Regions from separate parts of the Homo sapiens genome. Here region 2 is linked to region 1. Evidence: promoter capture Hi-C in 16 types of primary human blood cells and fetal thymus (Javierre and others, 2016). All regions are on one chromosome and are shown on one strand. Each heading gives the region's core, a stretch centred on a gene start or on the middle of the fragment in contact. The rest is flanking DNA. Distances are from core to core; before and after follow the strand shown.

The links. Contacts are between HindIII fragments. The CHiCAGO score rates a contact against its expected background, and 5 or more counts as called.
Region 2: a fragment that was not itself captured here is called in contact with the fragment with the promoter of NDUFB6 in region 1 in 1 of 17 cell types (activated CD4 T cells); the score reaches 6.4 in activated CD4 T cells.

The regions. Positions count from the first base shown.
Region 1 is chr9:32,571,479-32,574,611 of GRCh38, reverse strand. NDUFB6 (NADH:ubiquinone oxidoreductase subunit B6) reads left to right here and starts at 1,453. Exons shown (of 4, transcript NM_002493.5): 1 at 1,453-1,731. The coding sequence starts at 1,552. RefSeq lists enhancers at 1,046-1,095, 1,366-1,905. The HindIII fragment of the contact is 6,496 bases long and covers 1-2,593 here.
Region 2 is chr9:26,898,666-26,901,798 of GRCh38, reverse strand. No RefSeq gene overlaps it. Among named protein-coding and RNA genes, the nearest start is that of CAAP1, 7.4 kb to the right of the region's middle. The HindIII fragment of the contact is 1,486 bases long and covers 692-2,177 here.

The DNA of each region.
Region 1 (3,133 bases), core at 204-2,703:
GGACTCAAAATACGGAGACATCTTTAAGCTAAATTTAATTTCACAATATGAAATATTTACTTGGTTCTAAAGTCAAATTTATGAAGTAAGATGTTTCCAGAGATGTCTAGATTCTATCCCTGTCTCCTCTATCCTATTTATTTCCTCCACCATAGGTAGCATCTTTAAAAACCTCAATTGTTTTCATTCCCATTATTTTGAAAATTTAAGAAAATATGTATATATATTGAAATTACCACCATCTTTCTCTTTTTGGGTAAAAGCATACTGTACAAATTCCTATCCATTTTTTTTCCACTTTGTAATGTATTCTGGAGATCACACCACAGATGTATATAGAGTTCTTCCTTATTACTTTTGACGATTGTATTAGCATTTCATTGCTTTGTTGTGTGAAAGTTTTTGGGAAGCCACTGTTTTGGACTAGCTTCACGCACTAGGCCCCAGCAGACCAGACCAAACCAGAATGGAGTCGTTTGTGCTAAGTACCACACAATCAAACTGAACTTTGAAATGGGCCAGTTTCCCAAAAAATAGGAAATTCCCTTAAGTCTGAGTCAGTGAAACAAGGAAGTTTCTTCTGCTTTAACCCTAAAAGTAACTTTGAAACGATGAGTCCACTTTTTGTTCGGTTTCTGCTTTCTTCAGCCCCTATTTGCCAATAAAACCAACCGCCTCTGCTCAGCTGATCAGAACACTCATTCTACTTTATAGAATGAGGTGTTTTTTGATTCTAGAATCACGAATAAGAGTCAATTAAGATTTTTAAACTAATTCGTTGTAATGCTGTCTTTTGACTGTTGTACTACAATTTATTCAAGCAGTCCTTTATTTAGGAATTTGGGGGTAATTTCCAATATTTTGGTATTATGAATCGTGCTGAATAGTCGTGCATGCTCTTTCATATTTTCACCACACGTATTTTTGGGTGAAAGCATGAATTCATCTATGCAATTTTGCTAGATATTAAGCTACTCTTTTCACTATTCCTGTACAGATGGAGGGACAGATGAGACAGCTGCCCAGGGCACTTCAGCAGTTACTGGCATAGCTGGGATTTGAACTGGGATGTAACTATTTTCATACACTCTCTAGGTCATTCCAAGGTGGGAGAGGCAAGCAAATAATTTTGAATCTGGCCAGCATATTCACTGAAACATTTATGCTTATCCTTCCTCCTCCCAGCATACAAGTTCTTCCTTAGCAAAACCTCCAGTCCTCTAATTTAGCATACTTTCGTCTAATCTGTCACTTTCCTCAGGCCCCACAACTACGAGTACTCCTTGTCCCCACCCGGTCCTAATTTGGTCGGGTATAGCGGAGGTGGGCGTAGAGAGAACTGGAGGTGGAGACCTTTGTGCATGCCCACACACTGCTTTCCTCGCGAGGAATCTGGGGCCCTTGCAGAGGCGGAACCAGGATGTGACGTAATAACCGCGCGCGGCGCTCGGCGTTCCCGCAAGGTCGCTTTGCAGAGCGGGAGCGCGCTTAAGTAACTAGTCCGTAGTTCGAGGGTGCGCCGTGTCCTTTTGCGTTGGTACCAGCGGCGACATGACGGGGTACACTCCGGATGAGAAACTGCGGCTGCAGCAGCTGCGAGAGCTGAGAAGGCGATGGCTGAAGGACCAGGAGCTGAGCCCTCGGGAGCCGGTGCTGCCCCCACAGAAGATGGGGCCTATGGAGAAATTCTGGAATAAATTTTTGGAGAATAAATCCCCTTGGAGGAAAATGGTGAGTGACAGACCTCTCCGGTCCCCCCCAACACATCCCACTGCTGCCGGCAGCCTGAACACTGAACGTCCGCTCCCTGCAGCCACACCAAGGACTGATAACGCTCAGTGCTCTGGGACACTGGCCAGTCCCGAGAGTCCTCCTGGAGTCTCGGGAGGCAGGAGTCCAGGAATATGTATGGCTTTGAGAGAATCATGCCTTTTACTGTCAAGTACAGTGGACGGGGGCGAATTTTAATACTTAGGTTTTCCAGGACGCTGCACGTTTGGTTCTCTTTTGACTGTAGAAATCTTCCCTCAGAATAATAACCAAGGACTCGCTAGAATTAAAATTCTGTGATTTAAGTATTTGAGGACACTTGTCTGACTTTTAAGTGTGAGGTTCTAGAGACCAAGTAACACAGTATCCAACCACCAGAGGGCACAGCCAGCCCCTAGCTGATAGTACAGCCCCATGTGATCCCCGTAAAAGACAGGGTCCTGTTGGTATGCCTTGTGAGTCACATTCAAGAGCTACCTTTCTAAACTACCGTTCTGTACTTTTAACACAGTGTTTCATTAAAAAAATCGCATTTTGGGCTTTGAAGAAAATCACTCATTCAAGAACTTTATTTTCAAGGCCTCTGGGTATTTTCTTGAGGACTGTTATGGATGATAAACATCTCAGAATTGCTTTCAGTTACCTGCAACACTTACTGATGACAGGATAATAGTAGTAACAATACTACGTAACACACGGGTGCTTGCTGTGTGCTTGGCACTCTACTGGGGGTTTTACATGTGTTACTTCATTTCTTTATTCCTGTAAGGTAGATATTCCTAATCCTCATTTTAAATGTGAAGAAACTGAGGCCTACAAAGCTTCAGTGATTTGCTGGTGGTCAGGGAGCTAGGAATTGAATATGAGTTCATATTGTAATCAACATGTATCTGATTCTTACTGTGCTACAAAGTCTAGTGCAATAGAATTGTTGAAAATTTTTCTGAGAAAGTGATATTGGATACTTATTTATGGTGGTAAAATTCAACTCTTCTCCCACCCTTTGTATCCCTGACATTATCGGAATATTGGCAGTCACTGATTTAAAGTTGACATCCCATCCATCAGCAAGTGATATAAGGAAGTAAATAAATAATAATGTGTCGAAGTTCACCTTACCTTACTTTAATTTATTCTTTTATAATCATATCTGTTATAATTCTTAGATTCTGGATTGTCCCTTCCTTGAATGGATAGGTGTTTTTTAATCAAGTTGGAAGACATGGGAAAGTTCCATTTTTAGTTCTTTTTTAAAATAGTGTTGCAGAGGGCATTTTGGAGTGAGTTTGGGACACCCCATCTTAGTATGTAAAACGTCCTTTTTCCAGCATTGGCGTTGTCAAGGTTGTCTGCCTTATACCTA
Region 2 (3,133 bases), core at 185-2,684, 5.7 Mb after region 1:
CTATGAATAGTTTAGATATATGCTTCTTTGACTTCTTAATCTAGAATAGTCTTTCATATTTTAAAACTATCAGTGACTTTTTGAAATGTTTAGGGCACTCCAGCATGTGAAGCACCTCACATTTTGTGTTTGTAAAATATTTTTCTACAACCCTTTAGTATTGGTTATCTATTGCTGCTTAATAAATGACCCCAGAACTTTGTGGATTAAAATAGCACATATTATCTCAAATGTTCTGTGGTTCAGGAATCCTAACACAGCTTAGGTGGATCCTCTTGAGGCTGTAAAGTATCAGCCAAGGCTGGTGTCTCATCTAAAGGCTCTACTGAGGAAGGTTTCATTTTCAAGCTCACATCGTTGTTGTTTAGATCTTTTGGGGTTGGACTGAGGACCTCAATTCCTAGCTAGCTGTTGGCCAAAGACTGCCCTCTCTGAGTTTTGCTATATGGGCCTCCCCAGTGTGGCAAGTTGCTTCATCAAAGCCAGCAAGGGAGAGACTGCTGGCAGGACCAAAGTTGGAATCTTTATAATCTAATCACAGAAGTGACATCTCAACATCAAGGTATTGTATTGGTTGGAAGTTAATCAAGGGGAGTAGATTATGCAAGGCAGTGAATACCAGTAGGGGAGGGATCACTGGGGGCTATCTTGGAGTCGGCCTGCAACATCTATTTCCTATAAACTGAAAGCTTGTTTCCACTGAGATTAAACTATTTGTAGGAATACTTTACAGGTGATATGTACTTGTTATTTTGTCTTGATTATATCATATATGAGCTTCCTTAAGGGGTAAAATAGTCTTCAGAATAAGGTGGGTAATGGAAGCTGTAAAGAGGAGAAAGTTGCCTAAAGTCCTTTTGTAAAGTAGATAGTCTAATATTGGTCCTAGGCCTAAAATGAGATGTTGGGGCTTAAAACCTGACCTTGGAATTCCTGGACACTTGATAAATCAGAAAAATAAAATGTCCGAATGGCTGTGATCATCACATTTCAAGTTATGTAGCAACATTTACCACAACAGTTTGCAACTTGATTTAAATCAAACCAAATAACAATGCAAAGAACAACTAGGCAGCCTGCATTAAGCACTTATTCTTTTCTAGTTGTATATGCATAGTTTATCCTCATTATCTCTATGAGGTAGGTATTACACAGGTGTAGAAACTGAAAGAAGTCAAATCTGTATGACAAGTCAGTAGTAACCAAACAATGGAGAAGATAACAGTATTTAATCAATGATGTTGCCAAAACTGGATATCAATATGAAGAAAAATACCAGTTTGTAGTAGCCACTTTAATAGCAACTACAGTGGCTGCTAGTGCCATATAAGAATGACATGGATCAAAAGAAAGTGGTTTTAAGCCATTAAATGACATTTCTTTCATTCCTGTGTCCTCAAAGGAACTAATAAATTCAATAAATGTTCACTTATTTCTATATTATTCAAAATTTTCAGTAGTAATAGCAACCAAAGCTGCAGTATAATATAGTGAAGGAGCACTGGCTTTGGAGTTCAAAAGGCATATATTCCAATAGCCTTACCATCACTTAGTAATGAATTAAGGCAAGTTGCTTAACCTCAGCCTCAGTCAGTCATCTGTTCAGTGGGACTTCATATGACAGATGAATAATTTAAGATTCATGTAAAAGCCTAGCAAAATGATGGCCACATAAATGCTCAGCAAGCATTTCTTCCAAAGACAATACAAGGCTACCATGTTCTTTAATAATAAGAATAATTGCCTTTACAAAAACAAACAAAAGGGGGAAAAAAGTAATTTGGTTTTATTTCTACTGTGGAAGAAATGCCCTTGGGGCAGGGGGTAATCCTGAAGGACATTTATAAAGTTGTTTAGAACTCAAAATCCTTACCCTTCTTTTAAACTTCGTATAGTGCCCCAGGACCCAGCAAGAAAGTGTTTCTGTTGGACTGTAAAAATCACATATATGCATACTACAGCCCTAGCAGTGGTCTCATGATTTCTTGTAAGACTTCTGTGTATCGAATAGTGACAATATCAAACCAGTTTTGAAGACTTCTTACTGCTAACAGAGAAATACAGGGAAAGGGTCTCTTTTAGACAGAGTGCACATTGGTTAACTATAGCCACAGTAATACTGTGCAACAACCAACAACAAAAATAATAGTTTTTATTTAGCTCAGGAGTTTCAAGCTTGGGGTAGGATGGTCCTGGCTGGGCTCATTCATGTTTCTACAGGTTGTCTGAGGACTCAGCTCTAGGCTAGGCTCGTCTGAGTAGCTTAGTTGAGGCAGCTCTGCTCTACTTGTTGCTCATCTTTCTTCTAGGACCAGTGGGCCACTTTGGGTATATAATTTTTATGATAATGGTGGAAGCACAAGTCAACCATCCTAATTGCACAAGCTTTTTTTGAGACTCCACTTGCTGCACATCTGCTAACATCCATTTGGCCAAAGTAAGTTAGATGGCGTAGCAGAAGGGTAGGGAATTAGGTCTCACCTGTAGCAGGAGGGCACTGCCAAATTACATGGCAAGCTGTGGATATAGGGAGAGGTGAAGAACTGGGGTCATTAATGCAATTTGCCACAAGGGTGATAGAGAAAGAAGCTCTGTGTGGGTCCTGAAATTATCAGTTTAGAATTTTAACAAATATTTGCATCCCTAGCTTCTTCCAGGTAATGTATCAGGTGTTGAGACTACAAAAATATATATGCATAGTTCCTGGGAACTAACAGTATATTGGAGAAGATACTGAGCAAGTGCCTGCAGTAAAGAGTTCTGGACACTCTGTAGGGAGAATAGTGGGTTGCAAAAAAAGAAGTGGTTAATTTTAGGAGGATTGAGAATGGAAGTGATGTGGAAATGTTTTAAATAAGTTATACTTAAAATGAATCTTAGATACAATAAGTGTAGGTAGGGTTGTTGAATAGGCCTGAAGAGTGTATTTCTAGGAAAGGCTGAAGAGAAAAATGCTGTTCAGAGCATGGAAGGTCTTATGTTGTACTATGCTGTACTATGCTGTACTTATGCTGTACTATGTTGTATTAATTAGGACTTCAGGTTGCAAGTGACAGAAATCAACTCAGATCAGACAGGGCACTGTGGCTCATGCCTGTAATCCCAGCAATTTGGGAGGCCGAGGCGGGGGATC